Regions from separate parts of the Homo sapiens genome. Here regions 1, 3, 4 and 5 are each linked to region 2. The links are contacts of gene promoters, found by promoter capture Hi-C in blood cells and fetal thymus (Javierre and others, 2016). All regions are on one chromosome and are shown on one strand. Each heading gives the region's core, a stretch centred on a gene start or on the middle of the fragment in contact. The rest is flanking DNA. Distances are from core to core; before and after follow the strand shown. Region 1 has its middle 91 kb from the start of ZCCHC2. Region 2 holds the start of BCL2 (BCL2 apoptosis regulator). Region 3 has its middle 62 kb from the start of ZCCHC2. Region 4 has its middle 12 kb from the start of ZCCHC2. Region 5 has its middle 5.0 kb from the start of PHLPP1.

What was found. Contacts are between HindIII fragments. The CHiCAGO score rates a contact against its expected background, and 5 or more counts as called.
Region 1: a fragment that was not itself captured here is called in contact with the fragment with the promoter of BCL2 in region 2 in 2 of 17 cell types (M2 macrophages and M1 macrophages); the score reaches 7.6 in M2 macrophages.
Region 3: a fragment that was not itself captured here is called in contact with the fragment with the promoter of BCL2 in region 2 in 1 of 17 cell types (fetal thymus); the score reaches 5.7 in fetal thymus.
Region 4: a fragment that was not itself captured here is called in contact with the fragment with the promoter of BCL2 in region 2 in 1 of 17 cell types (non-activated CD4 T cells); the score reaches 5.5 in non-activated CD4 T cells.
Region 5: a fragment that was not itself captured here is called in contact with the fragment with the promoter of BCL2 in region 2 in 3 of 17 cell types (non-activated CD4 T cells, fetal thymus and total B cells); the score reaches 8.0 in non-activated CD4 T cells.

The regions. Positions count from the first base shown.
Region 1 is chr18:62,611,746-62,615,822 of GRCh38, forward strand. No RefSeq gene overlaps it. Among named protein-coding and RNA genes, the nearest start is that of ZCCHC2, 91 kb to the left of the region's middle. RefSeq lists an enhancer at 1-541. The HindIII fragment of the contact is 2,414 bases long and covers 868-3,281 here.
Region 2 is chr18:63,317,639-63,321,855 of GRCh38, forward strand. It overlaps BCL2 (BCL2 apoptosis regulator), which reads right to left and starts at 2,131. Exons shown (of 3, transcript NM_000633.3): 1 at 1,536-2,131; 2 at 444-1,314. The coding sequence starts at 1,028. RefSeq lists silencers at 753-992, 2,348-2,537, 2,698-2,907, 2,938-3,007 and an enhancer at 3,899-3,988. The HindIII fragment of the contact is 7,545 bases long and covers 1-4,217 here.
Region 3 is chr18:62,582,588-62,586,915 of GRCh38, forward strand. It overlaps a transcript of ZCCHC2 not described here. Among named protein-coding and RNA genes, the nearest start is that of ZCCHC2, 62 kb to the left of the region's middle. RefSeq lists enhancers at 1,613-1,672, 3,538-3,717, 3,589-3,883. The HindIII fragment of the contact is 2,648 bases long and covers 1,618-4,265 here.
Region 4 is chr18:62,508,393-62,512,924 of GRCh38, forward strand. No RefSeq gene overlaps it. Among named protein-coding and RNA genes, the nearest start is that of ZCCHC2, 12 kb to the right of the region's middle. The HindIII fragment of the contact is 3,472 bases long and covers 1-3,193 here.
Region 5 is chr18:62,708,450-62,712,709 of GRCh38, forward strand. No RefSeq gene overlaps it. Among named protein-coding and RNA genes, the nearest start is that of PHLPP1, 5.0 kb to the right of the region's middle. The HindIII fragment of the contact is 2,595 bases long and covers 450-3,044 here.

The DNA.
Region 1 (4,077 bases), core at 825-3,324, 710 kb before region 2:
GAAAGGAGTCTCTCCTCATTGCAAACAGAGATAAGCCTTCGGGGAGAGTTGCACACAGGAGTGCGAGTGGCCACCCCTCCAGGGGCTGTGACAGGGGAATCTGTGGGTCAGCGGCCTCTCTGCCACCACCAGCCACACGACTTGGGGAGGACAGCTGGGGCCTCCCTGTTCCCCTGTCCGCAGCAGTCAGGGCCTGCCTGTTCATACCCAGGTTATCACGTGAAACCAGGGAAGTCAGGGACCAGCCTCTGACTGCGGGACAGAACCACAACACAGGGTGTTGCTGGGGAGGCCCGACCTGGCTCGGGTTGGCTGCTTTCTCCTTTACAGGCTAAAGATCTGCTGCCCGCTGGCTCCTGCGGCCCTCCGTGGAGTGGGGGAGGCCGCCCTCCCTCCTGCGTCACCATCCTGGCTGCCTCCGTTCCTGCAGCTGACTCTGCAGGGGTGGGGAGTTTTGCTAGCAAGGCAAGTGGGATGTATTTCCATCCATGTCACACAGAGCTGACAGAAGCTAGGCGATTCCAGGGGGAAATGTCCTTACTTCCTTCCGAATGGCCTGGCTGCAGCTTAAGTGCACAGAGGAGTGGTTCCTAGACCCACTCTCAATCCTGGGTCTGGGTCTGGCTGGGTCTGGCTGCTTCTGCAGGCTTCTTGCTGTCAGGTCTCTCTGGTGTCAGAAATCTCCTGCCCTGCTGCCACCTTATGGAGTTAGGATGCCAGACAGACTGGCAGGGAAGCAGCCCCATGGGGGGTTGAACCCTGCCTCTCTACTCTGTTCTCTGCATGGTATCAGGGTGGCCCCGAGGGAGTGCAGAAGTGCCAGCCTTCCGCGGAGGGGAAGCCCTTTTTTGCCTGATCTTCTACATAAGCTTCTCCTAAGTGCTAGAGTCAGGCATAACCCCAAGGAAAGTTTCAAGGAGACGAGTGGTTCCAGCATGCAATGCTGCAGAGAGCTCAAGGAAAGCATTTAGTGGATGTCATAACTAGGAGGTCGTCAAGACGGGGAAGCTGCAGAGAACACCTGGGCACTGCTCCTTTGGGGATCTTAGCTGAGAGGCCTTCCTGTTGGCAAGAGAGGGGGTAGGAAGGACCTACTCTCCTGCCTACTCCAGTGGGCAGGCTTTCACATGAGAAGGAAAGAGGAAATGTAATTATTTCTGAGACTGAAGAGATCAGGTGGCATGGTATTAATGATTAGGGAACAAGACTGTCATACACATCACGACAGTTCGTCAGTTCCAACTTCCCTCATGTGAATGACAGCTGACATTCACACTTGCAGGACCAGGAGCCAATAATAACTACAAAGTGGCAAGTGGCTCTGTCCCTTCTGCCGCCACTAAAGAAAGCATCTCAAAATGCAAGCGTGTGGTAGTGACTTCATTGTAGAGACACTTGAATCACCTCTAGTTTATTAATATATTATAATAAACCAAAGAATGGTCCTTTCACTCTTAGTCACAAAGTACTTGCACCATGCCTCTCAATAACATAAACCAACAAAAAACTCAGTGAGATTCAAGACTCATAGTTCAACTAACACCCCTGCCATACTCACTCTTCCTTCTTAAAAAAATATCAATGCCAACAACTTACAGAAAAATCTCATCAATACTAAACAGCTGTTCCTTTCCTAAAAAGTCTCTTTGGATATAAATTGGTATCTCCATCAGCTTACAAGGTTGTAATCAGTATGTACATATAATTTCATGTTCTACTTTTCTTCACTAAATATTTCATCTACACATTCTCATTTACTGGTGTACTCTCACGATGTCTAGGGGCTAAAAAGATTTTATTAATTAATGTTTTCCCATTGTGGAGTATTGGTTGTTTCCCATTGTTCATTTTACAGTGCTGCAATTGATTTTTTTATAGAAAAGAAAATCAATGTTTTGTGTTTTCATTTTGAGGTACGTTTTCCCAAGTGAAACTATTGGATCAAAGGGTCTAAAGTGTTTGATGCCCTCTCACATAGTGTCAGATTCCTTTTCTATAAGAATACGCAAGCCGGGCATGGTGGCTCATGCCTATAATCCCAGCACTTTGGGAGGCCGAGACAGGTGGATCACCTAAGATCAGGAGTTCAAGACCAGCCTGGCCAACATGATGAAACTCTGTCTGTACTAAAAATACAAAATTAGCCAGGCGTGGTGGCACATGCCTGTAATCCCAGCTACGCAGGAGGCTGAGGCATGAGAATTGCTTGAACCCAAGGGTTGGAAGTTTCAGTGAACCAAGAGCGCACCACTGCACTCCAGCCTGGGTGACAGAGTGAGACTCTGTCTCAAAAAAAAAAAAAATAAATAAAGAATACATCTATTGTTAGTACCACTAGCAATATATGAATATCCAGTCCCCTTCATGTCAAATGGATTTTTTTTTCTTTTTTTTCTTTTTTTTTTTTTTTGAGATGGAGTCTTGCTCTGTCACCCAGGCTGGAGTGCAGTGGTGCAATCTCGGCTCACTGCAAGCTCTGCCTCCCGGGTTCACGCCATTCTCCTGCCTCAGCCTCCCAAGTAGCTGGGACTACAGGTGTCCACCACCACGCCCGGCTAATTTTTTGTATTTTTAATAGAGATGGGGTTTCACCATGTTAGCCAGGATGGTCTCAATCTCCTGACCTCGTGATCCACCCGCCGGATTTTTTTCTTTCTTTTGTTTTTCTTCTCCTTTTTTTTTTTTGGTTTCATAGATATGCAATATTTCTCAAAAGAATTGTTTTAAATCTGTATTTCTGAAGTTGAATTTAGGGGAGAGCCTGTGCCCCTGATGCCACCCTAAAGTGTCAGAGCCTCTTCACCCCGACAGTCTCCTTGCACACACATGTGTATGAACCGAAAGAGGGAAGTTTCTTCAAGACCCAGGCCCAGACAGCCAGCTCACACACGCATGTGACTGGTTTAAAGGGAAGTGCATAGCTGCTCTGGAGCATGGCACGGCAACCATTAGTTTAGTACCTGGCAAAGGGTAGACGATCCAGAAGTAGGCGCTGAGCTAGCTGCTTCGTGGAGCCTGAAGGAGAGTGTGATGCTGTGAGCGCTTCCTCCCCGAAGCTGCATAGCAACTACACATGCCTCCTGAACAGCTTTTCTTACCCCATCTTCTGTTCTAAGTATGGCAACTACATGTCCTAAATCTGCTAACATTTCAAACAGGTGGTCCAGTTGTCCCCAGAAAGTGCACTCATTCTTTTGAGACCACATGTCCCAAATTTGGACTGGGGACATGTGGTCACTACTATTTTGATGTATTGGTCTCCCACACTCCACTAGAACGCAAGCTTATTAAGAGTAAGGACTGTCTTATTCATCATTCCAAACCTGTATCATCCCTTTTCTACAACCTACACCATCCTTTAATTATAAAGTTGGTTCTACTTGCTCTCTTGTCACTTAGAGAGTTGCTATTCTTTGAAAATACAGATCCTAAAATAGCTCCATCTCTTTTCTCTCTTCCAAACTGTGTGTGTGTGTGAAAATGGGTTCCAAAAATATAATTTTCTTTAATGTGTTATAAGTAGCAATAGAGAAGCAAAAGGCAATAATATGCCCAGTAAGCATTGCCTACCAAACTAATTCTGAATACTTTATTATCCTGCTGACAACTGAAGAACGGTATTTGAAAGTCAAAAATTTCACTGCTTTCACACAGTATACAAATTGAAGCTCACGTGGCCAATGAAAGATATTAGCCAGAGGCGTCAGTTATATAAAGAGTTTCAGCACAGTGCTATAAATGCGTAGCTCTCAATAAATATTATAAAGATGAAAATACTAAACACGCTTTTTTTTTTTTTTGAGACGGAGTCTCGCTCTGTCGCACAGGCTGGAGTGCAGTGGCGCAATCTCAGCTCACTGCAAGCTGCACCTCCCGGGTTCACACCATTCTCCTGCCTCAGCCTCCCGAGTAGCTGGCACTACAGGTGCCCGCCACCACGCCCAGCTAATTTTTTGTATTTTTAGTAGAGACGGGGTTTCACCGTGTTAGCCAGGATGGTCTCGATCTCTTGACCTCATGATCCGCCCGCCTCAGCCTCCCAAAGTGCTGGGATTACAGGTGTGAGCCACCATGCCC
Region 2 (4,217 bases), core at 881-3,380:
GTTTCAGGGGAGCTTGTTTGGGATGCAGACTGTCAAGACCCAACCTGGTATCTGGTTCATAAGCAGTCCCTGAAACCTCCCTCCGGTTCCAACAAGCTGCTCAAGCCAGGAAACGGTGGTCCTGGGGACTCCTGGACCTTCAGCTTGAGAAACACTGAAGGGGTACCATTTACCACCACATCCTACTGGATTACAAACGCTAGATCTTTGGATCTCCACGACTAGCAAGCAAGTTAAAGACTTTTAGATGGCAGGCGTTATCGGTCAGGTTGGGAGTGAACGCTTTGTCCAGAGGAGGAGGTAGGGACGCCGGGAAGCAACAACTCTGATTTTATTTCGCCGGCTCCACAGCCTCCCATTGCCCCAGGAGCCCACCCGCACTCCAACCCCCGCATCTCGGACCTGTGGCCTCAGCCCAGACTCACATCACCAAGTGCACCTACCCAGCCTCCGTTATCCTGGATCCAGGTGTGCAGGTGCCGGTTCAGGTACTCAGTCATCCACAGGGCGATGTTGTCCACCAGGGGCGACATCTCCCGGTTGACGCTCTCCACACACATGACCCCACCGAACTCAAAGAAGGCCACAATCCTCCCCCAGTTCACCCCGTCCCTGAAGAGCTCCTCCACCACCGTGGCAAAGCGTCCCCGCGCGGTGAAGGGCGTCAGGTGCAGCTGGCTGGACATCTCGGCGAAGTCGCGGCGGTAGCGGCGGGAGAAGTCGTCGCCGGCCTGGCGGAGGGTCAGGTGGACCACAGGTGGCACCGGGCTGAGCGCAGGCCCCGCGGCGGCGCCGGGGGCAGCCGGGGTCTGCAGCGGCGAGGTCCTGGCGACCGGGTCCCGGGATGCGGCTGGATGGGGCGTGTGCCCGGGCTGGGAGGAGAAGATGCCCGGTGCGGGGGCGGCCCCCGGGGGCGCGGCGCCCACATCTCCCGCATCCCACTCGTAGCCCCTCTGCGACAGCTTATAATGGATGTACTTCATCACTATCTCCCGGTTATCGTACCCTGTTCTCCCAGCGTGCGCCATCCTTCCCAGAGGAAAAGCAACGGGGGCCAACGGCACCTCTCGCCCCAGCTCCCACCCCACGGCCCCCAGAGAAAGAAGAGGAGTTATAATCCAGCTATTTTATTGGATGTGCTTTGCATTCTTGGACGAGGGGGTGTCTTCAATCACGCGGAACACTTGATTCTGGTGTTTCCCCCTTGGCATGAGATGCAGGAAATTTTTATTCCAATTCCTTTCGGATCTTTATTTCATGAGGCACGTTATTATTAGTAAGTATTGTTAATATCAGTCTACTTCCTCTGTGATGCTGAAAGGTTAAAGAAAAAACAAACTAATAAGTAAAAAATCAGGTGCGTTTCCCTGTACACACTGAGTGAAAGCAGGGCATACACACTACAAGTAACACGGCTAAAAAGAATGTATTAAGCTGCCTGGAAATTAAATTTACTCGAATGCACTTTAAGTAAAAAATCTCAAAGGTTTCCATTGAAAGTTACATTAAACCAATTTCCTGTGCAGAGAACTTACTTGTATTTTTTAAGTACAGCATGATCCTCTGTCAAGTTTCCTTTTTGTAAAACCAAAACAAATGCATAAGGCAACGATCCCATCAATCTTCAGCACTCTCCAGTTATAGCTGATTTGAAACTTCCCAATGAATCAGGAGTCGCGGGGAGAGGGAGTAAAAATTAGGAGGATTTCCAGATCGATTCCCAGACTTCTGCTTCACAGAAATGTCAATCCGCAGGAATCCCAACCGGAGATCTCAAGAGCTCGAGAAAAAAAAAAGGCAGCGGCGGCGGCAGATGAATTACAATTTTCAGTCCGGTATTCGCAGAAGTCCTGTGATGTTTTCCCCTTCTCGGCAATTTACACGCGCGCACACACGCGCGGGCACAGGCATGAATCTCTATCCACGGGACCGCTTCACGCCTCCCCAGGAGAGAGACAGGGGAGAGGGGACGATGAAGGAGCCGGGGACGGAGGCAGGAATCCTCTTCTGATTAAACTCCGAACAGCAAATGCATTTTCCGAAAAGCTGCTGGATAAATGAAGGCAGGACGCGCCTGGCCCGCCGGTGCCGAGCGCTAGAAGCCCGCGCTGTGTGTGGTGCGGCGAGGGGTGGGGAGAAGGAGGTGGTGGGGGAGGGTTTTATTTTTTCCCTCTTTTCCTAAAAAGGATGACTGCTACGAAGTTCTCCCCCCTGGACCCCCTCTTCCGCTGCACCCCACCGGCGCACCCCGCCTCCGGGCTGCGCACCCTTTCTCCTCCTCCTGGTCCTGCGCGGCGGCGCTGGCTACGGCCGCCTCCCGGAGCTCCCGCCGCGCAGCCCGCTCCGAGCGCTGACGGCCGCCGGCAGGGAGGGCCCGGAGCCCCGGCACCTTCGCTGGCAGCGGCGGCGGCGGCAGCGCGGCGGGGCCACGGAGAGCGGCGGGCGGGAGCGCGGCGGGCGGGCGGGCAGGCGGCGCGGAGGGGCGGGCGCGGGAGGAAGGGGGCGGGAGCGGGGCTGTGGTGCCTGTCCTCTTACTTCATTCTCTGCACAGCCCGACCGGTTTCCTGTGCGTAACGTCACACGGTTCATTCAAAAAAAGAAGAAAGAAAGAGCCCTCCTCTGAGCCACCCGACCGCCCCCTCCGCCCCGCTCCCTGGCCCGGGTTAAAGGCGCCGCGGCAGGCCCGGGAGTGGCGCGTCCCGCCGGGGGCACATGGCGCGCGGGGCCGCGGCCGGGGAGGGCGCGTCCGGGCCGGCCACCCGCCCGCTCCGCTGCGCCCGCGGGGCCCGGCCAGTGGGTGGCGCGGGCGGCACAGGCCTCCCGCGCGGCCGCGGCGCGGTGGGTGTGCGCGGGGCCTTCTGCTCAGGCCTGCGGCAGGCCGCGTGCGGACTTGGTGGTCGCTGGGGTCCGCGACGGGGTGGGGGCTCCCGGGGAACCGCACGCGGCCGGGCCGGGCGGACGACGGAGTGCGGAGGGGGGCGGCTGGCGGGAGGGTGCGCCATGAAAACAAGGGCTGGAAAAGCGCCGGGAACCGCCTGGACCCTTTCTGGCCGTGTGAGTGTGTGTGGAGTGTGTGTGTGTGTGTGTGTGTGTGTGTGTGTCTCGCCTGGACCTTTTCTAGCCGTGTATGTGGGAGTGTGTGTGTCGCCTGGACCCTTTCTAGCCGTGTATGAGAGTGTGTACACGCGCCTACACACACACACGTTGTGTTACCGGCGCTCGGCCGCCGGGGGAAGACCCAGGCCAATGCCGCCCCCCACCGCCCCCAGCAGTGGGACCTCAGCGCTGCCCTGCTGTGAAGACAGGTGACTCTGCACGTTTTAAGCAATGTCTAGGGACGCCCCGAGCGTGGTGTTTACTTTCAAGTAGCTTCCTAGGTGTCCGCGCACTACACACGCACGCGCATCCCCGCCCGTGTCCACCTGAACACCTAGTCCGTGGCCCAGGCCATGCAGAACTCAGCGCTCCAGGGAAGGGGTTTATCAAGGGCTTTACGACAGTTTAAGTCAATGTTTTCCCTCTGTCCCTAACACCTTTTACACTGGTTTAGTGCTACACGATGAGGACTTCCATATAGTAACTTTCAGGCCCACCGTCCTAACGCTGGGGTGGGTGGGCTCCTAAAGGTCTCCACCTTTGCCTCGTAGCCAATCCTAGTTGGCCGCACTTTCTCAAATGAGGTACATAGATACACACATACACATTCACACTCGCAGACGTGTGTACGCGCAAGCAGACAGTTTTAAATTAATCAGCATGAATAGCCCCTAGCAAAAAAGGACAAGAGGACAAACAAGTTGCACGTGTGTATTTTTATCTCCAAGAGTCTTTGACAAAGCACCAAGAAAAGAAAAAGGTCTTCTAGAAGCACAGCGGCTTACTTAATAGGGCTCGAGTGCAAATATATAGGGACACTGGATTATTGGGGTCAAGAAAGATGACAAATGAGTACTACAATGTGTACAAATATGCTATGACTTTTTTTTTTTTTTTGAGACAGAGTCTTGCTCTGTTGTATCTTGGAGGCTGGTGTGCAGTGGTGCGATCTCAGCTCACTGCAACCTCTGCCTCCCAGGCTCAAGCAATTCTGCCTCAGCCTCCTGAGTAGCTGGGATTACACGTGCACGCCACTACGCTCTGCTAATTTTTGTATTTTTAGTAGAGACGGGGTTTCGCCATACTGGCCAGGCTGGTCTCGAACTCCTGACCTCGTTATC
Region 3 (4,328 bases), core at 1,692-4,191, 730 kb before region 2:
AGAACCGCTTGAACCTGGGAGGCGGAGGTTGCAGTGAGTTGCAGTCACACCACTGCACTACAGCCTGGGTGACAGTGAGACTTCATCTCAAATAAATAAATAATGGCTCTGAAGGTTAAATAATCTATGGGAAAGGTCCAACATAATGAAATAGCACTGAGAAGCCACTCAAATTCTAGTTGAATTCAATTTTGATGAACAGGGAGATTGTAATACTATTTTAAGAGACAGGGCCAGGCACAGTGGCTCACACCTGTAATCCCAACACTTTGGGAGGCCAAGGCCTTGGGCAGATCACTTGAGCCCAAGAATTCAAGACCAGCCTGGGCAACATGACGAAACCCCATCTCTACAAAAAATACAAAAATTAGCTGGTCCTGGTGGTCTATGCCTGTAGTCCCAGCTACTCAGGAGGCTGAGGCAGGAAGATCGCTTGAGCCCAGCAGGCAGAGGCTTCAGTGAGCCCAGATCATGCCACTGCACTCCAGCCTAGGTGACAGAGTGAGACCGTGTCTTTTTTTTTTAATAAAAGGGAAGATGTGGACGAGAACAGGTTTGGGTAGGAGTGATGGCAGTGATTCTTTGGATGGTGAGGAACCTAGCAAACATAGCTCTTCATTAGACTAAGATTAGTTAATTTTGCTCTATGCACTGATGAACGATATAGAAGCTATTCCTTACCCTCGCAGATTAAACCTAGTTGGAAAGCTTGCCAGTTAATGGTATGTATGGACTGTACAGACATGCCGAGTCATAACGGTCATGATTATTCAGTACCAAAGTAAAAGTTTATGGCAAGGCAAATCTACATTTAATTTTTTATGTAAGCACTAAGAATCAAATTTTTCTGAAAAGGTTCCAAAGAGATGAGAAAGCACGGTGTAAAATACCTGTTTTCTTAACAGCACCTAGTACTTAACAGCACCATCCATTTGAGCTTGGAAGACATCTTTTTCACTTCTCCATACTGATTGCAAAAGCATTCTAAGGTTAAGGCAGTGAAACCATATGGAGGCAAGCTGTGACAATAGTTCCACCCCATGACACTCCCATAATCTTAAAAGAATAAAAAAATACTGACCCCCCCCTCCACCCAACCCCACCCCACCAAGAGGGAGGGCTCATTGATTTCCAGAGCAGTGAGTTTCGAGGTGTGAGATATGAAGAAATGGGGTCCCTGCCTGGAAACGTAGTCACGACATCTCTACATCTTCTTCTCTTTAGGGGAGGAGACCAGCTGTTAAAGGATGAGGGGCTCTGGGGTCCCAGGGCTGAGAGGCAGGTGTCAGCTCGGGGTGGAGGGAATGTTTTAACTGGAGTGCCCTCGCCCCTTCAGATGACCCTGTGCAGAGAGAGGACAGGCCAGGGCGGACAACCTTGTCTTTCCCTGGATGCTCATTAACGTATTGGCTTGCTCAGGTTGGATTCCTAGGGTCAGAATAACATCATATTTGATGTTACCGCTGCTTACAGATACAGCTGTTGTGCTTGTCCATGCAAAATTTCCCTAATTCCTAAACGCTGTCCTCTGTTGAAAAATGTAAGCCCCCTGAATTGGAACATGGGTACACATCACCTGAGTTCTGTGTGTGTATGCAAATGTTTATCAATTGTGGAAGCTTTGGAATTGGGGGTGGTTTGGGGCTTCCTCTTGTCTGTTCTGTAATGGGGGCACATCACACGTGTGGGGACCGGAGACCCTTCACGCAGTCACCTCCGCCTGCAGAGAATGCGGGCCTTGGTCACCAGAAGCTCTCAATCCCATGATCCGGTTTTGCTCTCTGAAATTTGGCGGTGGGAGTTGTGGTGAGGTGGGGGGTTGGGTGGTTCTTCATTGTTTTTCTTTTTCCTCTTGCAGTTCCAATTTGAGCCGCTGTGAAAAAGGCCTCCACCAGCCTCTCACCAGAAGAGATTGCTCATTGGAACGCAATGCCACCTGGTGGGGGACGAGGACAGTGCGAGCAAGCAGATGTTATTTCCTACTGACCTAATTTAGAGAACATTAAACGTAAGAGAGGGAACATTTGGGGTTGGAAGCCTGTGCCCAAAACCTTAAAGAGTGCAGGCAGCTGGCCATAAAAGCAGCTTGAGCAAACCCCTCATTCAGCCGTTGAAATGTGTGTGTGAACACTTTAAAGGTTTCCTCTGTGCTTTTCCTGCGTGCATTTGGTCATCACAGCTGTGAAGTGGGGTGGGAATGTTTCCCCTCGTTTTCTAGGAGAGAAATTTTGGGTTCAGTGAGACGAAGTGCTGCAGACAGGCCCATGGTGATGCTCAGGCCTCTGCTTGAAGTTGGTGCTCACTTCCTGGCACCACTTCCTGCCCCCACCAGTGCTTCTGGCAGAGCCCAGGGCAGTGGCTTTATGGAACTGTGTAAGGTGATAGGAACCCACAGGTGGAATGGCCGTGTGGCCTCTGGACTGAGGAGGGCTGGACCAGGTTGTGGGCACGCCTGGAACACACGCCACATCCTATCCCATAGCGAGGCCTCTTCCTTGTGGCTCTCGAAGGATTTGAGGACGCGGGAGGGTGAAATGTTTCCAGAGAAATATCCAGGACTTTTAGAACTAGGCTTTCAAAAGCATTTACCTGTCAGATAAATTCAAGTGGCATCAATGCAGATTTTAAATGTGTACAGATATCTCCACTCGCACGCTGAGTTGTGCTTCACACAAGTTTTGCGCACGGAGTATTCCATTAAATCTACTGAAGCAGTGGGGCAAGGAGAAAGGAGAGGTGACTGCTGATGTTTTTAAAGCTCTGACAGTCACATATAGATTGTCCCAGGTACCCCTGCTGCCCCCAAGACACTCCAAAGGCAAAGATGGATGGTGACAAAGTAACCTTCATGCAGAAACAAGAACAGTCACCCCCAACAACAAGCCCTGCTGAAGGTGAAGAATGCCACCAGGCTGCCTGGCAGTTACTGAGTGCTTATTCCTGCTAGCCTATTGGAGTCACGTCATATTTGTTACATGGTAACTTAATTGTGCCTTCCACGCCTTCACAAAATCAGTTGTACAAGAGAAGGCACCCACCACAGTCCATGTGACCTTTCTCGGTCTGATTTACATAGTGGGGATGATGACACTCGCGTTGTAGAGTAGTTGCACGATTAAACCTGGCACACAGACATAAAGCACTCAATGTCTGACACATAGTGGACTCTCAAGAAGTTTGTCATGCAGGGGACACTTGAATGCCCAGTATGGGCCAGACAGCATCAGCTCATTTCAGTCCCACAGCCCTGTGAGGGAGGAACTCTGCCCTGTTTTACAGTTAGGGAAATTGAGGCACAAAGGCTAAGAAGTCGATATCCAAGGGCACAGAATGATTGGGTGACGGTGAGCCCAGGCAGTGTGACAACAAGGTTGCTGCCCCACGCCACCTCTGTCTTTCGTGGGTATGTCGGTGTGAGGTGTAGGCAGCCCTGCACTGGCATTCAGCAGGCGGGACTCCCGGGCAGGCTCTTCTGCGAACACTCATGGGCCACCAGCCCTTTCTGGAACTTGCCTTTTTTTTTTTTTTTTACCTGAAAGCTACGTGAATCGTTGGTAAATTGGTGTAAAAATGGAACTGAGTCATCTCAAAAGTTCCTTTCAGTTCTAAAATTCTGTGAATTGAAGCCTACTTTTTCACTTTAAATGATTTATTGGGTTTACAGTTCTTTACGCTTTCTGATTGAACTGATTTGAAGTTCTTATTTCGTGTGTTGGGGAACACACCCCCAACCCGTCACAGCGTGGCCGTGGGTGGGAGATGGACGTTAGGCTGGCCAGTCACTAGGGGGCAGCATCAGCACGGGTCTGGCTGTCCCTGGCCTTAGGGAGCAGTTTCTGCCCCTCCTGCCCCGTCAGAAAGTCTCGGACTCCTCTCTGCTTGCATGTGTAAAGTTTTCATTTTCAGGGGCCTTTTAGTCAAAAAAAATAAAGCTGTATGACTTAGTGCTGAAGGATATGAATTAGGCGTAGCTCTTGGGTTGGCAGCATAAACCAAGGGGCATCAACCCACCACCGACAAGCTAAGAATGGTTTTTACATCTTTAAATGGTTGAAAAAGGAAAAAGAATGTTTAGTGACACGTGAAAAATACATGAAATTCAAACTTCAGTGTCTACAAATAAAGTGCATTAGCACACGGTCGTCTTGCTTCTCTATGTGTTGTCTGTGGGTGCTTTGTCTTATCCCAGCAAAGTGGAATAACTGGGATGGAGACGCTATGGCCCTCGAAGCCTAAAATATTTACCGTCTGTCCCTTACAGGAAAAGCTTGCCATAATCAGCCTCATCTGAAGAAAGATGCACTTCGCATTATCTTGAAGGTCCTGAT
Region 4 (4,532 bases), core at 208-2,707, 810 kb before region 2:
CTAGACCAGGAGAACAGCATTCACAAGGATGTTTATCATAGCGTTGGAAAATGAGGTGACTGGACTAAAATTTCCAATTGTTATGGACTATATTTGTACCCTAAATTCTGATGTGATGAGTATCACTTGAGGCTAGGAGTTGAGGCCAGCCTGGGCAACATAGAGAGACCCCCATCTCTAGAAAATAATAAAATAAAATAAAATAAATAATAAATTCCGATGTGCCATTTCCTGATTTGCATTCAAATAACTCAGTCCTAGGCCAGGAGTGATGGCTCATACCTGTAAGCCCAGCACTTTGGGAGGCCAAGGTGGCCATGAGTTTGAGACCAGCCCGGCCAACATGGTGAAACCCCGTATCTACTAAGAATACAAACATTAGTTGGGCATGGTGGCGCGTGCCTGTAATCCCAGCTACTTGGGAGGCTGAGGCAGGAGAATTGCTTTAACCAGTGAGCCAAGATCGCACCACTGCACTCCAGCCTGGGCAACAGAGCAAGACTCTGTCTCAAAAGAAAAAAAGAAAAGAACTATTTGTGTCTTGCATACCTAAGTATATTTAAAGAAAATTTACAAATATAATCATATAAATTCAGCTTTTTCTTGAACCCTTACTATGTAGAAGTCACCCTGCTAAATTTTATAAGGAATACAAGAAACAATAAGGAGAAGGATGTACCCCCAAGTAAATCACAATTTAACCGAGAAAATATGATATACTTGTGCATCTCTGCACGATGGGAATATGTTCTGAGAAGTGCATCATTACGTGACTTCACTGTTGTGCAAACATCATAGAGTATACTTATACAAACCTAGGTTAACTGAAACATTGTTATACAGTGCATGACTGCATAGAAACACATATCTACCAGTGCAAAATTATTTGTCACAACTTTTACATAGCTTCTATTACCTAATCAGTGTCTTACAAAGAGTGGGCACTCAATATTTATTTGCGAAATAAATGAAGGAAGGAGGAAAAGACCATTTCCAGGTGGAAGAGCCGGGGAAGAGTCCTGGAACCAGCCGTGATTCAAGCTGGGTTCTCAAGCGTGGTTAAGATTTAAAAGAATTGGGAAGAGATGAGAAACACTGCAGACAAGAAATGCAACAGAAACGTAAAGTATCTATTCTTGGCAAGTGAGATAAACATGTTCTCTGATTGCTAAAAATTAACTTTCCAAAATAGATAAATGTGTTATAACCAGGCACATAGCATAAAATAGCATACACATAGCATAACATGAGCCTACACACACACAAAGCAAAAAGTTAACAGTGCCCTCCACCAAGAGATAATTTTAGGACAAGAGAAAAAATATATCCTAAAAGATAGCATTGAAAAGTAAATAAATTATATTCCAAAGGAAAAAAAAACCAGAAACAAAGGTGTAAAAGATTTTCCCCAATCTTAATGCTTTAAACTAGAATAGTAAGGGATGGAAAATATACCATTTCCTGAAATTTCTAAGAGATTTTAGTGATTGGGATCAATAGTAGCAAAACATTGGTGGATGCCAATTCTCTCCTGTGTAAAAGATATGTAAGTTCAGTTCTGAGTGATTGCACAAGGGTAAAGGTATTGCAAGCGTTCACAGATCACTCACTCTGCACATAATACCTTTGCCCCAAATAACCATTTGCACCTTTTATACAGTAAAAGAATTACAGCCATTCTTTTAGTAACTAGTCCCTAAAACATAAAGGCTTTCTTTCCTCTTTCAAGAATTCTAAACCATGAGACATGTACTATACATATTGAACACATAAAGAGATGAGAACACATGTAAAGATGCAGAACACATGTAGAGTTTTTGTTATAGTTTTTTCTCTCTTCAAAGCATTTGTATTTTTTGAATGAAAGAGGGCCCAATCATTACTTAATCCAAATCCTGAAACCTGTAGGTAGATATACAGTAACTAAGGCATAAAGAAGAGCAGATCTATTCACTGACTGGGAGTTGAAAAAAAAAAGAACAGGAGACAGGGGAAGTGTTTACCATGAGTTGTGGTAAATGAATCTATATATTCTATTACAAGGTTTCTACATTTTGCATAAAGTGGAAACAACATTAAAGTTACTGTGAAAAGTTAAGAATGTCTATTGCACCCCTATAGAAACCACTTACAAAAAATACGGAAGGATTGCCAGAATGCCTGAGGAAGAAGCATGGCAAATCCTTTCCCCAAAAAGCAATGATAAAATTTGACAAAATTATCAAAAACAACCATGTCAGTACACTGTAAATTGACCAAAGTCATACAACAACTTGAAAGGAAATTATTTTGAAAAAAAATCACTAAACTTTAGTAAGCTCAGTGGAGGTCTGTGGTGTTTTACCCCGGGGCTGTTCCTATCTACCCTTTTCCCATAGCTTCATCGTGTGGTAGTTCTACCAGGACAGAGCAGGTCATGGGAGGTAGCTGGCAGAAGGGGCTGCGTTCATTTGTACCAGAGCTTGAAAAAAACCTATGCCCAGGAGCACTGTCAAAAACAATAGGGATCTCAGTGGTAAACAATCAGGGAAGTCCAGTATTGCAGCTAGCCTGAGGTTGCAACACTGTTTAGGGTAAACAACATACCAGCAGACCAACCAGAAATTTAACAGTGTGATCTGGGGACTGAGACAGCCACAGTAGGCACTGATAAGCTCTCACATATCCCTGGGGGTCTGGAAGACTGCCTGCATATGCATAATTGTGCATATGCTCAGGAGAGGCCAGAGATGGCTTTAGCTAGCTATGTAGCTGACTGAATATGAGGCTTTATGATACAGATACTAAAATCAGCGTAGACTTGGCCCGGGATGGTGGCTCATGCCTGTAATTCTAGCATTTTGGGAGGCCAAGGCAGGAGGATCATTTGAGGTCAGGAGCTTGAGACCAGCCTGGCCAACATGGTGACACCCCGTTTCTACTAAAAATACAAAAAAAATAGCTCAGTCGTGGTGGCATGCACCGGTAATCCCAGCTACTCAGGAGGCTGAGGCAGGAGGATCACTTGAATCTGGGAAGTGAAGGTTGCAGTGAGCCGAGACCATGCCACTGCACTTCAGCCTGGGCGACAGAGTGAGACTCCGTCTCAAAAAAATAATAAAATAAAAAAAATAAAAGCAGGGTAGACTTGTAAACTGCCTGTACACTGCATGTGATCTTCACCTAAACACAAATCTGTCAGTTAAAAAGTAGAAGCTTTATTAGATCAAGATGTTTTAAGCACAACTTCTGACCACTCACTGGCTGACCAGTAAGCTATGATGGCCCAGGGTAACCCTTAGGAAATTAGGCATGAAGTGAAAACAATGATAACGACAATAATAATATTAACTGAGCAGAAACATTAGCTGCTGCATGTTGTGAGGGAGCCAGATTCCACAGAATTAGTTCATGCAAATCGCTAAACAAACAAGCAAAACAGAAATCAGAACAACCTGCAGTTGAGGGGGACCAGAATTCAAACTTGGTATAGCACATTATCTAAAATGTTCAGTTTTCAACAATTATGATATGCTACGAAACAGTAAGTATAACTCATACACAGTGGAAGGGGAGGATGGAAGCACTCAATAGAGACCACCTCTGAGGGGGGCCAGATGTTTGATTTACTAGACAAAGACTAAATACATTCAAATAACTAAAGAAAATAATGTTTAAATAATTAAATGAAAGGATGACAACAATATTTCATCAAATAGAGAATACTGATGAAAAGAGAGAAATTATTAAAAAGAACCAAATGGAAATTCTGAAGTTGAAAAGTACAGTAATTGGAATGAAAAATTTATTAGAGGGGTTCAATAGGTTTGAGATAGCAGAAGAAGAATCTATGAACTTGGAAGTAGATTCAATCTAAAGAACAGAAGAAAAAGAATAACAAAATGAACAGAGCTTCACAGACCTGAAGGATACCATGTGTATAATGAGAGTACCAGAATGAGAAGAAAGGTGCAGAGAAAATATTTGAAGAAATAATGCCCCAAACTTCTCAATTTGATGAAAAACCTAATCTACACATTCAAGCAGCTCAACTAATTCCAAACAGAATAACCACTGACATATCATGGATAAGTCATAGTAAAATTGTTGAAAGCCAAAGATCAGGGCTGCCTTTCCCATCACTACTTTGAAACTCTTAATTTCTGAACAAAGGGACTTCACATTTTCATCTTCACTGGGTTCTGCCAAAGACAAAGAGAAAATCATGGAAGTATCAAGACAAAAATAACTCATTATATACAAGGGAACCCACAATTATGTTAACAACTGAATTTTCATCAGAGTGAAGGCCAGAAGACAATAGGATGACATATTGTAAGAACTAAAGGAAAAAAGAAGAACCTGTCAACCTAGAATTCTATATTCAGCAAAGCTCTTCTTTGGAAATAAAGGCCAAATAAAGATATTCCAAAAAACTAAACAAACAAAAAAAACCGAGATAATGTGTTCCTAGCTGACTTGCCTTACAAGAAATACTAAAGGAATCCTTGAGGATGAAGGAAAATGACAGCAGATGATAACTCAAGTTCACA
Region 5 (4,260 bases), core at 497-2,996, 610 kb before region 2:
ATGCTTAGTTAATTTTTGTATTTTTAGTAGAGACGGGGTTTCATCATGTTGTCCAGGCTGGTCTCGAGCTCCTGGCCTCAAGCGATCCACCTGCCTTGACCTCTCAAAGTGCTGGGAGTACAGGTGTGAGCCACCATGCCTGGACTCTCCCCTCACTTTTAGTGTCCAACTCCTTCATTAAGAAGCCTTACATTTTAGCCCCCTCATCCTGCACTAGTTGAGAAGGTGATTTGCCAGCCATGCTCCCACTTCTTCATTCCCTGGCCACAGACTAAACCTTGCTGTGGGTGATGCTCACTTTCAGTTGTGTATTGGCTCTGCAGCAATGAAGGAGGAAAGACCCCATCTTTTGGGGCCCTCAAGTTTACCGGTAACAAAAGGATAAATTTTTGTTGTTTTGAGCCACCCACTTCATGGTGGTTTATTACAGCAGCCCCAGGAAACTAATAAGCTTAGGAGTCTAGACCACTAGATGTGGCAGGGAGTAGAGGGAAAAAGGGCAAGATTTCTAGGGACTGATGGAGTCTCCTAAAACCTCTCTACAATGGGGCGGAAAAAAGAAAAGAATATCCATGCTGCTTCTTCACGGTATAATTAATGAATGTAAGTATGGAGGAATCATTATCTGGAGAATACTTTTCTCTTTTTAGTCACGGAAGAATCAGAATAAATGTTTTGGGATGGCGTAGGAAAATAGATTTTTGTTAGATAGGAATCTTTTTTATCTTTTGTTTTTTTTGAGATGGAGTCTTGCTCAGTAGCCCAGGCTGGAGTGCCATGGCCCAATCTCAGCTCACTGCAACCTCTGCCTCCCAGGTTCATGCGATTCTCCCGCCTCAGCCTCCCGAGTAACTGGGATTACAGGCACGAGCCATCACGCCTGGCTAATTTTTGTATTTTTGTAGAGACAGGGTTTCGCCATGTTGGCCAGGCTGGTCTGGAACTCCTGACCTCAGGTGATCCACCCGCCTTGGCCTCCCAAAGTGCTCTTATTACAGGCATGAGCCACTGTGCCTGTCCTAGATAAGAATCTTGATGCAAACAGGTATTAGGTGCTTGTGTGAGGTTAGAATCCAAAATATGTTTCTAAAAAGCTAGGTATAAATTAATTTTTAAAATTAATATATTTTAAATGTATTCATATTATAAGAGTACTTAAAACAATTGTATGATGATTTCATTCATAAGGGAAAGAATAAATGAGACTTTGAGAAGAAATATTTATACTCTAATATGTAATTTGTATATATAGATTTTCATGTTTCCTGTTTGCCCCAAACAAAAATTATCTGTACAACGGAAGAGAATAGGTTGATTTTAATTGAAGATTTTTTATTAAATGCCAATGCCTATAAATAGGCTTCATTAGATCAGGTATTTTTGTCTATACTGTTTACTTAGGATGAATGATACCTACACTTAAACGTTCAATAAGTAGTCGGGTGCAGTGGCTTACGCCTGTAATCCCAGCACTTTGGGAGACCGAGATGGGTGGATCACCTGAGGTCAGGAGTTTGAGACCAGCCTGGCCAACATGGTGAAACCCCATCTCTACTAAAAAAAAAAATACAAAAATTAGCTGGGTGTGGTGGCAGGCGCCAGTAATCCCAGCTGCTCAGGAGGCTGAGGCAGGAGAATCACTTGAGCGCCGGAGGCGGAGCTTGCAGTGAGCGGAGATTGCGCCACTGTACTCCAGCCTGGGTGACAAGAGCGAGATTCCATCTCAAAAAAAAAAAAAGTTCAATAAGTACTTGTTGAATGAATGTCCCAGGTAATTTACATTATTAGGGTATTGGGGTGGGTTTACGCCGCCTGTATTTCTGTTCTAAAACTTAATTGTTGCCACGTATGGAACATCTGTTTACTTTGGTGAGGCAGGATGTGAGAAATAAGAACAAGACAAAGAATTATGGGATTAAAAAGGGTGCACTAAAATCTGAAAAGCTATCAAGCCGTATCTATAAAACAGATTACCTAAAATGATAGTAGCAATCCAAGCTCTTGATTGAATTCAGATTGTAAATTTTATGAGGGAGGGGTAAGACTTCAGAGAGACCATAAGGTCTCATCCTGCCAGTGAACAGGGAACATATTAATTCAGTTTGGCCACCTGGGGCCCATTTAGTGCACTAGAGCAGTAATTTGCTAAATGGGTCCCTCATAGTAAAAAAGAATGAGTAAACAGTGAACAATTTAGGCATGGTAAACCACTAGTAGCTCAAGGGATATAAAAATGTGAAACTATAATTAGATCCCTTGTTCATAATGTAGGAACTAAATGTATTACATTGTATATTGCATCTTTCTGAGTTTATTTCTGGACACAGCTGAGCCCTTAACAACTCAGACTGAAATCATCCCAGCTATCAATTTATGCCTCTATTAAAATTCCAACTGCTTATATTAGAAAATAAACCTCCAAAGATGACTTCTTTTATCTTAGTTCTAAGGATTCAAACAGAATTAACCTAGATGCAGATCATAGCAAGTCAGTTATAAATCACACAGCATAAAGTAAACTGTGGCAATAAATTGAAAATTGTGTTCTCCTTTTCTAAACTTAGATGTGAAAATATTTTAACAAGTTGGCATCAGGATTCACAACTTTTGCATCTGATGTTTCTTTTCAGGATTATCTTTTAGCATTTCAAAATGGGATTCTTTGGAAAGTGTGGTTAGTCAGAAATGTGGTATTAGAACGTACATTTGGAACACTTTAAAGGGGGGCATTCATGATGTATGTGGTTTTAGGATACTGGTGTATTCCCCACTCCACTTTCAAGTAGGAGAAGCTGCCATTTCATGGGTGTCTGGAACACATTTGTCTTTTATTGAAATCTTTTTCTTATTTGGAGAAATTGTATAGAGTGCATTGGCACAGATGGTCTGGGTGATGTTTCCCGATACTAGCAAGCTCTAAGTACAAGTTTCATTGCCCTTTATCAATTTGTTCTTTCAACTACAAGGATCCAGTTGATCTGGCGGTAAGGGATTGTTTATTCTTCAGGAGCTCTCATTTTCTTTCTGTTTCTTCTCTTACCCCAAGCTTAGTAACATCACTGGGGGCTTGGGTCAGAACAAGGGAAGGATTACACAGTGGACCCCGGCCCTTTTGCTCTCCCCTTAGCTCTGATTTACATTATTCTGCATACAATGGAATATGTCATCTTCAGATGATGGACTCTATGCATGAAATCCAGGAAAATTGTATTTTAGGTCCCCACCCCTCCAAACACTGTTTTTATGAGGTAGGAATGTATTTCCTTCTTCGTTATGCTGAGGTACTGTAACAATATTCATCCTGTTCATTTCCTGCCTCCTCCCGACACCACTTAGTATTAGGTATCCCAGTACCAAGCCCCTATCTGCCAGGAGTGTATGATGGCTCTCCAGTCCCCATTTCCCCATTATTTGGATACTAAATCCTCTGAGCAATGTCTTTATTTTTTTTTTGAGACAGAATTTCTCTCTTGTTGCTCAGGCTGGAGGAGTGCAATGGCGCAATCGCGGCTCACTGAGTCCTCCGCCTCCTGAGTGGCTGAAATTACAGGCACCCGCCACCACGCCCGGCTAATTTTTTGTATTTTCAGTGGAGGCGGGGTTTCGCCATGTTGGCCAGGCTGGTCTCCAACTCCTGGCCTGAGGTGATCCGCCCGCCTTGGCCTCCCAAAATGCTGGGATTACAGGCGTAAGCCACTGCGCCCAACCTGAGCAATGTTTTTGGTACAAATTTTTTTCCCCTTGAAAAAGGTGTTTTAGTTATAAATACCTTCAAAGAGTAAACAAAATTGCTAGAGAATAAAAAAGGCAGAGTTGCGGTGATTGTGTAATGTTAAATAATAGGAACCATGGGTGGATTCAATGCGGTATTGTAATTTCTTAGAGAAGGAGCAATGGCGATAGAATTTATGATTAGAAGAAACATTCTGGGTTAGGTGTGGTGGCTCACGCCTGTAATCCCAGCCCTTTGGGAGGCCGAGGCAGGTGGATCACTTCAGGTCAGAAGTTTGAGACCAGCCGGGGCAATATGGTGAAACCCCATCTTTACAAAAAAATTTAAAAAGTAGCTGGGCGTGGTGGTATGCGCCAGTAGTCCCAGCTACTCAGGAGGCTGAGGCAGGAGAATCGCTTGAACCCCGGAGGCAGAGGTTGCATTGAGCTGAGATGGCACCATTGCACTCCAGCCTGGGCAACAAGAGTGAAACTCCATCTCAAAAAATAAATAAATAAATAAATAAACAAACATGCCGGCCGTGGTGG